3 separate regions of the Homo sapiens genome follow, and all the other regions are linked to region 3. Evidence: promoter capture Hi-C in human tissues and cell types (Jung and others, 2019). All regions are on one chromosome and are shown on one strand. The core of a region is centred on a gene start or on the middle of the fragment in contact, and the rest is flanking DNA. Distances in the headings are between cores, read along the strand shown. Region 1 has its middle 57 kb from the start of PNRC1-DT. Region 2 has its middle 4.1 kb from the start of PNRC1-DT. Region 3 holds the start of RRAGD (Ras related GTP binding D).

Region 1 (4,202 bases), core at 1,113-3,612, 390 kb after region 3:
GTACAAAAATTAGCCAGGTGTGGTGGTGCATGCCTGTAGTCCCAGCTACTCGGGACGCTGAGGTGGGATGATCACCTAAGTCTGGGGAGACTGAGGCTGCAGTGAGCTGTAATGGTGCCACGGCACTCCAGCCTGGGCAACAGAGTGAGACCCTGTCTCAAAAACAAAACAATCTTTACATTAGGTCTCAGAGGTCGTGGTTGTTATTATCTCCATTTTCCAGGAGCGGAAAATAAAGCTCAAGAGGTTAAGTTACTTGCTTAACATCCTGGCTAGCAAACAGAGGAGTCAGGATTTGAAAGAAGGTGTGACCCAATTACTATGCTGTACTGATAAAAGGAAAACTGAAGGAGAAGGGCATGCCAGGACAAGGAAGCAGTATATTAAAAGGCCTAGAAGCTGGAAGAGCACGGAGCCTTTGAGGTATAACTGGGGTGAGGAAGTGATGGGAGGAAGAAGGGAAGACAAAGTTGGGAAGGGAGACAAGGGCTGGATGGTGATGGACTCCTGGGAGAAGGGTTCCTGTAGACAATGGGGAATCTCTAAAGGATTTTAGAAAGGTGAGACTGCCGGGTGTGGTGGTTCAATGGCTGTAATCCCAGTGCTTTGGGAGGCCAAAGTGGGAGGATTGTTTGAGCTCAGGAGTTGAAACCAGGCTCAGCAGCATACGAGACCCTGTCTCTACAAAAAATAAAATATTAGTCTGGTATGGTGGCATGCACCTGCAGTCCCAATTATTCGAGAGGCTGAGGTGGGTCATTTGAGCCCAGGAGTTAGAGGCTGCAGTGATCTTGCCACTCTACTCCAGCCTGGGCAACAGAAAGAGACCCTGTCTCAAAAAAAAAAAAAAAAAAAAATTCAAAATATAAAAGAGGCTGGGTGTGGTGGCTCACACCTGTAATCCCAGCACTTTGGGAGGCCGAGGCGGGTGGATCACCTGAGGTCAGAAGTTCGAGACTAGCCTGGCCAACATGGCAAAACTCTGTTTCTACTAAAAAATACAAAAATTAGCTGGGCGCAGTGACTCATGCCTGTAATCCCAGCACTTTGGGAGGCCCAGGCGGGCAGATCACAAGGTCAGGAGATTGAGACCATCCTGGCCAACATGGTGAAACCCCGTCTCTACTGAAAATACAAAAATTAGCCGGGTGTGGTAGCGGGTGCCTGTATAGTCCCAGCTACTCGGCAGGCTGAGGCACGAGAATTGCTTGAACCCGGGAGGCAGAGATTGCAGTGAGCTGAGATCACGCCACTGCACTCCAGCCTGGCAACAGAGCAAGACTGTCTCAAAAGAAAAAAAAAAATTAGCTGGGTGTAGTGGTGGGGTCTTATAATCCCAGTTACTCGGGAGGCTGAGGCAGGAGAATCTCTTGAACTTGGGAGGCAGAGGTTGCAGTGAGCCAAGATCATACTACCACTGCACTCCAGCCTGGGTGACAGAATGAGACTCCATCTAAAAATAAAAGGGAGAGAGATGGAGGGAGACAAATTCCTGGTGATGTCATTTGAAGCCCTGGATATAGCCATACTTGAAGTCAACCCACTGGGCCCTGGACTTTCCAGGAATATAAGTGCATAAATTCTCTTTCTCTTTTTATTTTTGTTTATCTTGTTTTGGTTTGTTTATATTTTTGCTTGAGTTGGTTTGCATTGGGATTCTACCACTTGCATTTGAAAGTTTCCTAAAGAATGCGGTGGCACCACATGGTCTGGCCCCTTCCTGCCTGTACCCACTGTTCCCTTGATCTCTGTGCTCCAGCAAACTTGGCTTTCTTTCAGTCACTTAGAAATGCCTGGGGATCCTCTGCCATAACTGCTTTGCATATACTACTGCCCTGCCTGGAACATTCTTCCTCCCTCTTTGCCCAGTTAACTCTTACTCATCTTCCAGGTTGCTGCCTAAGGTCATTCTAATAGCTTGTTACAAGGTGGCCCCTGATGAATTCCATCTTCCAGTATTCATGCCCTTGTGTGATAGTCCCCTCTCCTGAACTCTGGGTGGACTGATTTAACCAGTGGAATTCAGCAGATATGATGCTGTGTCAGTTCCAAGCCTAAGCCTTAGGAAAGGCTGGCAGCTTCTATTTTTGTGCTCTTGGAAGGCTTGAGCCAACATATTAAAGGTCTGATTATCCTGCTGGAGAGACCAAATGGAAAGATTACATGAGAGAATCCCAGCTGTGGCCTAGCCTAAGTGCCAGCTGGATGCAGCCTCCTGAGTGACCACTGACAAGACCAGAGAAACTGACCATCTGAGCCCAGCCCGAATTACAAAATTGTGTGCAAATAAAGTGGTTCCTCTCTATATCTCTTTTGTCTTCTTTAAGCTTGTTACTTTGTGCTATTATGTTTTAGGGTAGTTTGTTGTGCAATATTAGATAAGGGAAAGAGTCACTTCAAGAAAACTCCTCTGGCCGGGCACAGTGGCTCACACGTGTAATCCCAGCACTTTGGGAGGCCAAGGTGGGAGGATCTCTTGAGTCCAGGAGTTCAAGACCAGCCTGGGCAACATGGAAAGACCCCGTCTCTACAAAACATACAAAACTAGCTGGGCATGGTGGCATGCACTGGTAATCCCAGCTACTCAGGAGGCTGAGGTGGGAGGATTGATTGAGCTCCGGAGTTGGAGGCTGCAGCGAGCCGAAATCACACCACTGCACTCCAGCCTGGGTGCTAGAGCCAGACCCTGCCTGGAAAAAAAAAAACAAGAAAACTCCTCTAACACTCCTAGACCAAGTCAATCCCATTGCAGACATTTTCACAGGAAAAAAGACATGATCATAGTACTGTGCACATTTCCTTTAGAACACTTATTACAATTCACAGTTGTTTGTAGCTTTAACTCAAGAATGACTTTTCTTTTCAGGGTCCCTTTTCTGTGATAAACTCAATAATTTCAGGAGTATTTATCCAACCTTAAGACATCAGTCTTTATTGTGGTTGGAAAGTTAGGTCTGTCTGCCAAAGGACCCAGTTCTCTGCTTCCATTCCTGCTGAATCTGCTGCTGATCCTCCAAATGCAGGTTCAGTAGAAATTGTAGCACAAAAGTTTCTCACAGAAAAGGTCCCAGAGGGCTCCCTTCCCCCTCCTAATTTGTGAGTCTGCTCTTAAGCATTTAGGCACCATTAATAGGAAAACTAGATTTTAAAAGATTCATGGTGCATGGTTTACAGTATTCAGATTTACATAGCAGGTTCTTCCAAATTACACTTAGGGGAATAAATCAGTGACTAACTTTGGCAATCTCACAAAGCACAGAGCCTTCCAGTTTTAAAGGTTTTTGCTGGTGAGTCATTAAGTTAAAAAAGGAAATCTATATTGGTGATAAATCTTTGTAGAAGTACTCTATGTTCTGCTAAAATTGATTGTTTCTAGGTGGCTACTTCAACTAATATTATGAAAAGAATAGATTTCTGTTGTAATACAAAATGATACTTTCTGAGAAATTGTTCCTAGTCTTGCTTTTTTTAAAAAAAAAGTTGGCACAGGAGATTTATTACAGAGGGTACTTCCAGAGGACCAGAACTTTTAATAAATTGATTCTGTGGTTATTTTCATTGTTTAACATTATTGATCATACACATTCACCAGATTAGAAATTTGCGGTTGCTGTACTTGTGGGGAGATGGCATGGTGGAGACCTAAACTTTATGTAGGTTAGAGCTTACTCTACTGGCAGTCCACAGCTTCAACCATGGTGAGTGAAGACAAAGGAGGATTCCTGAACCCCATCCTCTCCCTCAGGCTGTCTTCTCCCACCCTCCACACACTCCATCACAAAGACCTACATAAGCTTTCTCTCTAGTCGTCACCTCCTCTCCTTTTCCATGTACGCTGCTTTAGTTCAGGCTCTTGTCAATTTGACCTTCAGACTTTTGCTGTGTTCTCATGGATGGTATTCTTGCCTTTAGTCTCAACTTCCAAATCCATCTTCCACCACACTTCTGCAGTGACTGGCTACTTCCTTTCTTAAAACCCTTCAATGATGCATTGTTTCTGCAAGAGAGGTCCTTAACCTATGGTCCACAGATATTTAGCAGACATATGGACAAATGAACTCTCTAAAGTAGTGTAGATGAATGACATGAATACATCTATTTCCCAGGAGAGGGCCTGTAGTTTTCATTACACTCTCAAAAAGGCCTGTGTCTCAAAAAGAGGGAAGAACCACTGGCCTATAGGTGGAAAAACCAGTTCCTTG
Region 2 (4,234 bases), core at 1,343-3,842, 340 kb after region 3:
CCCACGCCCCTGAGTAGCTGGGACCACAGGCACACACCACCACTCCTGGCTAATTTTTTGTGTTTTTAGTGGAGACAGGGTTTCACCATGTTGCCCAGGCCGGTCTCAAACTCCTGAGCTCAAGCCATCTGCCTGTCTCAGCCTCCCAAAGTGATGGGATTACAGGAGTGAGCCACCAAACCCAGTCAACCTTATAAGCTTTTAAAACTACATTTCAGGCCAGGCGTGGTGGCTCACACCTGTAATCCTAGCACTTTGGGAGGCCGAGGCGGCTGGATTACCTAAGGTCAGGAGTTTGAGACCAGCCTGGCCAACATGGCGAAACCCTGTCTCTACTAAAAATATAAAAATTAGCTGGGCATACAGGCTAATGTGCCTGTAATCCCAGCTACTAGGGGGGCTGAGGCAGGAGGATCGTTTAAACCTGGGAGGTAGAGGTTGCAGTGAGCCGAGATCATGCCACTGCACTCCAGCCTGGGCAACAGAGCAATACTCCATCTCAAAAAACAAAAAAGAAACCAAAAAAACTCCATTTCATTCCAATTGCTGAATTTTACTCATTTTTGTTTCTGCAACATGTAATGCATAGTAAGTGCTCATGTTCATTGGATGGATGGGAATCATGGACATCCAGAGCTGTAAAAGAATCTACTTTTTCAAAGCACTTTCCATCTGTCATCTCATTTTATTCTTACTCTAGCACTTTAAGGTTGATATAGAGAGGTCCTATTTAACGTATGGTGTAAATAAATTTAAATATATAGTAACTTGCTTGGGGGGGGGGGTTCACAAAATGAGGTAGGAATAACTCGAACTCCTGATGCCTAGTCCAGTGTTCTTTTCACTATATCCCATGATTTTAGGCTTGACTTTATCTGGGGATAATATCATACTGTCCTAGAGAATAATTTACCCTTCAGGGAGCTGGTCATTGGTAGCCAGCTCTGTGGGGCCCTTGGTCAAAGATACCTATTATTGTCTATGTGTATTTCTTGGGTGATTGTTGGAGTAATTATGTGTATAACTTATCATTTTGAGGCCTTAAGTGTAGGCTTCATGTTTGCCCTGGGTTCTGTACTGTAAGAAAAGTAACCTTGCAGCTGTGACCACCTGGGTGATGGGTGCTGAGATTGCTAAAATGGTGCCCACCACTAAGAAACAGAATGGGAGCTGAAATGGGGCACTTAGAAGAGAGAGGTCGAGGTTTTATAAGCCAGATGATTGGATTTAATGTTACTCTGTGTGGGTAGTCTTTGTAAACCCTTAGTCTTTAGTAAAGTCTAATTTTAATGTTTAAACCTAAGCGTTACAGGTTTAAACATATAGTGTTAGCTGTGCTATATGATATAAAGGAAAAAGATCAGGCTGGGTGCAGTGGCTCACGGATGGCAAGGTGGATGGATCACTTGAGGTCAGGAGTTGGAGACCAGCCTGGCCAACATGATGAAACCCTGTCTCTACTAAAAATACAAAAATTAGCCAGTTGTGGTGGTGCATGCCTGTAGTCCCAGCTACTTGGGAGGCTGAGGCAGAAGAATCACTTGAACCTGGGAGGTAGAGGTTGCAGTGAGCCGAGATCACGCCACTGCACTCTAGCCTGGGCGACAGAGCAAGACTTCATCTCAGGGAAAAAAAAAAAAAAAAAAAAAATCAGATCCTTTTGCTTGGGCCCAAAAGGCCAAACTTGGAGGTAACAAGATATTCCAAGGGTAAAGGAAATTTTAGGAGAATTCTCAGAGTTCTTGAAGCTTTTTGCTCCAGTGTACATCTTGATTTTATTTTTGTTAAGCTAATCTTTAGAGGAGGTTAGAAGAAAAATAAAAGATTGGAAAGTAAACTAGGTATTAAATAGCAGAAAAAAGAGGTAATGCCCATTTATGAAATAAGCAGCTTACCCGCATTGACACTAAGCAGAACTCCAAATTCCACTTCTCTCTCTTCTATCTACCTTTGTCTCTCGTGTATTTTACCTCTGTCCTCTTTCTCTCCCTCTCTCTGTATGAAATGTCATTTTCTTTCCTCCTACCCTGAATGTCTTTTTTCCTCTTTATATAGACTTTATTACCATTTTTTCTACCTATTATTACTTAGATTTTTTTTTCTTTTTCTTTTTTGAGACAGGGCTTCACTCTGTCACCCAGGCTGGAGTGCAGTGGTGCGATAACAACTCACTGCAGCCTCCACCTCTGGCGTTCAGGAGATTCTCACACCTCATCCTCCCTAGCTGGCGCATGCCACCATGTCTGCTAATTTGTGTGTGTGCGTGTTTGATAGAGACAGGGTTTTGCCATGTTGCCCAAGCTGGTCTCGAACTCCTGAGTTCAAGTGATCCAACCACTTTGGCCTCCCAAAGTGCTGGGATTACAGGCATGAGCCACCTCACCCAGCCTATTGCTTAGATCTGTAATGTCTAAGGTGTGAGGGACACCTGTGTGAAAAGAGGAACACTTAATCAAACTTCTATTTTGCTTTTTTTTTTTTTTTAGACGGTGTCTCACTCTGTTGCCCAGGCTGAAGTGTAGTAGTGTGATCTCAGCTCGGCTCACTGCAACCTCCACCTCCCAGGTTCAAGTGATTCTCCTGCCCCAGCCTCCTGAGTAGCTGGGATTACAGGTGCATGCCACCATGCCTGGCCAATTTTTGTATTTTTAGTAGAGATGGGGTTTCACCATGTTGGCCAGGCTGGTCTCAAACTCCTGACCTCAGGTGACTCGCCCGCCTCAGCTTCCCAAAGTGTTGGGATTATAGGCGTGAGCCACTGCACCCGGCCTTCTGTTTTGCTTAATGCTCAAATTATTAATCTTTCAAATTTATAAAATAATAGTCTTCTAAACATAAAACAACCAGGAAATCAAAATGTTTTTGTTTAGCAAGTAAAAATTTTCCTAACATTTCAGCATTGATTACAAAACTTATTTTATAATGTACTCTGAAGAGTTTAAATAAAAATCTAAAATTTGTGTTAAAAAGCAAAATATGCACAAATTTTCACAATAATGACAAATTTATGACACTTGGAGTGCTTATAAAGTATTGTTACCATAGATTGAAATTAATGTCTCCATTATCCCTATACTTATATCTCTCTGGGGTTACAGGTTTGTACAGGTTATAATTTGCATGAGGGTACCTGGCCAAAGAGTCAAGGGAGAGCTGAAACAGAGCTTTGACTCTGCTCTTGAAGACATCTTCCCAAGGGCTGGGGCCATCTGGGCATCGCTATGATTTGAACGTTTGTGTCTTCCCCAGATTCCTATGTTGAAACCTAATAACCAGTGTGATAATGTTAGGACGTGGGGTCTTTGGGGAGTGATTAGGTCATCAGGTTGGAGCCCTCATGCATATGATTAGAGGCCACAGAGGCCCCTCCTCCTTATACCACTGAGGACACAGCAAGAAGTCTGCAGTCTGCAACCCAGAAGAGGGACCTCACCAGAACCTGACCAGCTGGCACCCTGATCTTGAACATCCCGGTCTCTGGAAGTGTGAGAAATAAATCTCTGTTGTTTGTTATCTACCCAGTTTATGATATTTTGTTTTAGCAGCCAGAATGGACTAAGGTGGCTTTTTCTTATTGGTATGAAGGTGTCAAAAGGACTAGTGGCAACCTTAGGGTACAATAATAATGATGGACATTTGATTCTATTTCAGCCTAGATATAAAACCAAAAGAAAAAGCGTGTCATGGCCGGGTGCAGTGGCTCACGCCTGTAATCCCAAAACTTTGGGAGGCCGAGGTGGGAGGATCACTTGAGCTCAAGAATTTGAGACCAGCCTGGGCAAAATGGCAAAACCCACAAAAATTAGCTGGATGTGGTGTTGCCCACCTGTCATCCCAGCTACTCAGGAGACTTGAGGTGGAAGGATGGCTTGAGCCCAGGAGGTCAAGGCTGCAGGGAGCCATAATTGCGCCACTGCAGTCTAGCCTGGGTGACAGAGTGAGACCCTGTTTCAAAAAAAAAAAAAAAAAAAAAAAATAGAAAAAGCATGTCATTTAGACCAGCTGATGTTTAACCAATTGCATCTTAGCTGGGTAACAGTCTCCATTATGCCTTCCTTACCTGAGCCTTGCTCTCATTGTATACATTGATCAAGCTTTTAAAAATCCTTGCCATTTGCAGAATGTATTTCTTTATTTAGTTTATGGAGATAGGGTCTTGCTCTGTTGACCAGGCTGGAGTGCAGTGGCACGATCGTAGCTCACTGTATCAAACTCCTGGGCTCAAGGAACCCTA
Region 3 (4,116 bases), core at 280-2,779:
AAATTTAGGGGTGGTGTTATCTTCCCACTATCGCTAATACCTGCATTGATTCCCTAAACTCTGTCCACACCCCTGTAAATTGTTCCTTCACTTGAAGGCTTCAGTTAAAGTCTTTGCACATACCGTCTGTTTCATCCTGGGAAGAACCTTAACTGATACAGTCATACCAAATTATACTGCCTGCCTCCCTTGGAAAATCTCAGGACCTTTCCCATTAGAAGCAGCCACCTTCTGGAAAGTGTCTGCATCCACCTTCTGCACTCAGAAATACTAAAAAAAATCCAGGACATGAGTCATGATTTGGTAGACTGTGAGCTCCTTCAGGGCAGGAACACTGCCCTGAGCATTCTTGGACCCTCTACTTAGCCCAGCCTCAGGCATATAGGAGGTGGTTAATAAATGTTTCCTATGGAGGTTAGCACCCTTGGGCCCTGAGAGTCTCCTGCCCTAGCTTCCTCCCTCCGCTTCTGCACCGCACCACCGGCTGAGCTGCTGGCACCTGTAGGAGCTGGATCATCATGCTGACCGGCCGGTTTTTTCTTATTGTGCTCCACAGAAGGAAGTTCATCCACGTAATTTTTTGCAGTACCCAGAAAGGGTGGGTACAGTGTGTTCCGTGGTGAAAAGCTTGTGAAGGAGGAATGCAGGTTTTAGAGTCTCACTCCACGTTGCTGCTATTCCTATTTGAGAATTGCCCCCCCACCACCGCCACTCCCCTACTCCCACAAAAGCCTTGAAATATTTTATTCATGTGGGATTACAGTCTATGCAACAATGAGACATGAGGAGGTGGCCATGAATAGCCCCCGAGTGTGTTATACACTGAGACCTTTTCCAAAGGGCTGCAGAGGAATTATTTAGTCTAAGCAGCCACGAGTCATGTGATTTCTTCAGAAACATTTACGTCTGGGTAGGCCTGCTTTTTAAATATTCTTGGTGGGAAGCACTTTGAACCATAAAGGCACACTAAAAGACAATTGCTATGGAGACTGCGCCTCCACTGTGCATTTATCTGAGTTCTCCGCCTGGGGCTCTTGAGCGTCCACAGGGTGTCCTGGGCACGCTGCTCTGGGGTGGGGGATCTGGGCGCCACAGTGTTGGGAGGCCACCCGCTTGGGACCCTAGCTCAGGACTGTAAGCAGGAGGCATCCGCCCACGGTAGACGCTCTGCGGGCGTGTGGGAGTGGGACGGCGGGGGGGACATTGAGGGTGTGCGGCGCCCCCTCCCCTGCCTGTGCGGGGACCACGTGAAGGAGAGGCGCGTGGGGGCCCCTGGCGCGCAGCCGCGGTGGGTGACGGCCGGCGTCCCGGGGGCCCCGTGTACGGGGCGTGTGTCGGTGTGAGTCTGGGAGGGTGCAGGGGCCCCGCGCCTCCCCGGTCTCCTCGTGCGTGTGCGTGTGCGTGTGCATGTGTGTCCTCGGCCCAGCGCCCCGCCGAGTGGTGCCCGCGGCCGGGCGAGCGCGCGCGCGCCCGTGCGGGGTGTGTATGTGAGTATGTGACAGTGTGTGTCAGGTGACTCGGGTCACGCAGTCTCTCTCTCTCTCCCTCCTCCGGGAGGAACTGCCGCGCTCCGGCTGACTCCTCCGCCGGCGGGCGGGGCGGGGGAGGGGGCTTCGGGCGCGCTGGGAACCGCGGGACCCGGACCTGGGCGCCGCCCGCCGGGGGACGCGCGGCCCCCGCTTCCGCCGGGCCCCGCTGAGCTCTAGACAAACCTCCGCTTCAGAAATAGGCTGCGGGCGGCCGGCTAGGAGGCTTGGCCCCCACCCCGGGACCCCCGCCGTCCCCGGGCCGGCCGGCCGGTGGGCACGATGAGCCAGGTGCTGGGGAAGCCGCAGCCGCAGGACGAGGACGACGCGGAGGAGGAGGAGGAGGAGGATGAGCTGGTGGGGCTAGCGGACTACGGAGACGGGCCCGACTCCTCCGACGCCGATCCGGACAGCGGCACAGAGGAGGGAGGTGAGCGCCCGGCCCCCGCGTCCTCGGCTCGCGCCCCTTTCCTCCCCTTGGCGCCTTCCCGCCCCCAGCCCGGCCGTGCGCGAGCCACCGACTTGGAGGGGGTCCAGGGGAGCGGGTCCAGTTGAGGGTTTGGGGTGGGGAGGGACGCCAAAAGCCCGACCTCGAGCTGCCAAATGAGGGAGCGCGGTGCTGGTGGCGGAGGGGCAACCAGGATCGGTGGAAAAGGGGAAGGAGGGAGTAAGCGTCTGGGCTGGAGGAGCGCGCGCTTCTGCCCCTTTCAGAGCCGGTGCCTCCCGCGCCCCTCACCCCAAGCTCTCCGCAGCGTCTGGCGGTTGGGGAGGGGAGGGGACCGCGGGCGCGCCCTGGGACCTCTCTCCCAGAACGGTGCTGTTGAAGCCAGGGTCAGATGTCGTGGCTAAAAAAAGGCAGCCGGCGGCGGCGTGACTGGCAGGGTCGTCGGCAGCTGCGGGTGTCAGTCTCGCCCCGCGTCGCCGCGGGAGGGGCCCACCCAGGTAGTGGCTGGGGAGACCCGCGGGGCGGCGGGGGGATGCTCGCCAAGCTGTTGTGGGAGTCTCCGAGAGGCCGCAGATTTCCCGGGATCCACGCAAACACCGTTGTCAGGACACCTTATCTGCTCTCGGTATCACCACCTGGACATGGCAGTGCCTGCCCGGGAGTGAGCGCGCGGCGGGGAATTCTTTGCTTCAATAGTGAAGCAAACTCTTTTTCCTGTTCTAGAAGCGGGTTTTAGCAATCGTTCAGCTTGTGGGGGCTTCCTGCATTTTCTTAAGGTGTAAGGAAGTTGAGAGCCTTTTAGTATTCCAGAGAGGTTAAACTTTTTTTAGTTTCCCTCAGAAGCGAGCAAAAGTTCCTTTACTGTAAGGTCACTTGGAAAGGTCAATAGAAAGCGGCTGTTAAACATGATGTTATTCTCAGTGAAACTGTATGCATCCAAGAGAAGGAACTAACTTTAATGTTTCACACTGAAGAAATTGTGTGAGAGATACAAGTACCTTTGTGACTATTGATTTTTAAAGAACTTTTATTGAGAATTCACTGAACTTATTTTAAATTCTCTATGCAAAGCTTTTCTCACTAGGGTAGTTTCATTATTCTACATCTGGCAGGCACGACTTTCAATGAATCAGAAAGGAAATAAAGTTAACTATGCCTTGCGCCTGGTAGATGAGAAAGCAGCCTCTCAAGTCACCCTTTTTCATAGCGTTTTCTCTCTTGGGATGATTTGTGCTAATTCCTCATTTGCTTAAACTGATGTGTGCACCTTTGTGCTTTCTGTCTTCTGCACTCCCGGTAATTGGTCTTACCGTTGAGCACCAGGCCACATTTTTGTAGATAAAGGCTTTCAGCCGTTTTATTGGAGTCTCTAGAGCTACCTTCCGTAATTAAATTGTTCAGTCGCCTCATTATTATTCAAATTCCATTTGTTAGCTCCTCCCAGATTCTTAGAAGACTCCGGAGAGATGCAGAATAGGGATGTATTTGCAAGGTATTTGAAATGGTGGACACAGTAGGGTGTGTGTGGGATTCTCTTTTTTAAAAAAGAAAAAAAGTGGGGGGGCGGAGGGGCCATATCCAGGAGGGAAAGCCCTGTAATTTGATACTGTCCTGAGGCCTGGAGGGTCCAGAAAAAGTACTGGACCCCTCGTTTATTCTGCAGTTCTTTAAGTGGGCACTTTTAAAATTTGATTTGGGGACTTGAAATTGAAGTGAAATTAAAGCCCTGCTTGAGGGATGGGATTCCCGGAACAAAGGGCTTCCCCAGAGCCCAGACTTGGAGGCTCCTTAGCTGTTAACGTAAAGGCAAACTTGCCTGTAACTGATTTTTGGTGACTCGCATAATAAAATCCTTCTGAATGGGCTTTTGGGATCAGCTTGGGATCTTGCTATAAAAGGATTAAATATATTTATATTGTGAGAAGAGCAACATGTTTGCTCGGCAAACGTTGCTTAAGCCTGGTCTCTGTCCACCTGGGCCTGCAGTGGATAGGTGGTCTGCTTCTCAGACTTCCTCCGTTATATTTTGGCCTCTGTTCTTTCCAGATTTCCCTGGCTTTGACTTTTGGGTTTAGGCCTTGATGCAGAATCCCTTGTCAGGACATTTGCTCTCTAGTGTCAGATAGGCTCCTCAGTCAGCAATTC

Evidence for each region. Contacts are between HindIII fragments. The study calls those that stand out against the background at their distance.
Region 1: a contact is called between a fragment that was not itself captured here and the fragment with the promoter of RRAGD in region 3, in 2 of the 25 tissues and cell types used here (H1 embryonic stem cells and bladder).
Region 2: a fragment that was not itself captured here is called in contact with the fragment with the promoter of RRAGD in region 3 in 2 of the 25 tissues and cell types used here (heart left ventricle and hippocampus).

What each region holds. Positions count from the first base shown.
Region 1 is chr6:89,021,970-89,026,171 of GRCh38, reverse strand. No RefSeq gene overlaps it. Among named protein-coding and RNA genes, the nearest start is that of PNRC1-DT, 57 kb to the left of the region's middle. RefSeq lists an enhancer at 3,999-4,202. The HindIII fragment of the contact is 6,267 bases long and covers 1-4,202 here.
Region 2 is chr6:89,074,399-89,078,632 of GRCh38, reverse strand. No RefSeq gene overlaps it. Among named protein-coding and RNA genes, the nearest start is that of PNRC1-DT, 4.1 kb to the left of the region's middle. The HindIII fragment of the contact is 5,757 bases long and covers 1-4,234 here.
Region 3 is chr6:89,409,686-89,413,801 of GRCh38, reverse strand. RRAGD (Ras related GTP binding D) reads left to right here and starts at 1,529. Exons shown (of 7, transcript NM_021244.5): 1 at 1,529-1,956. The coding sequence starts at 1,809. RefSeq lists silencers at 1,113-2,302, 2,333-2,442, 2,473-2,572. The HindIII fragment of the contact is 6,593 bases long and covers 1-4,116 here.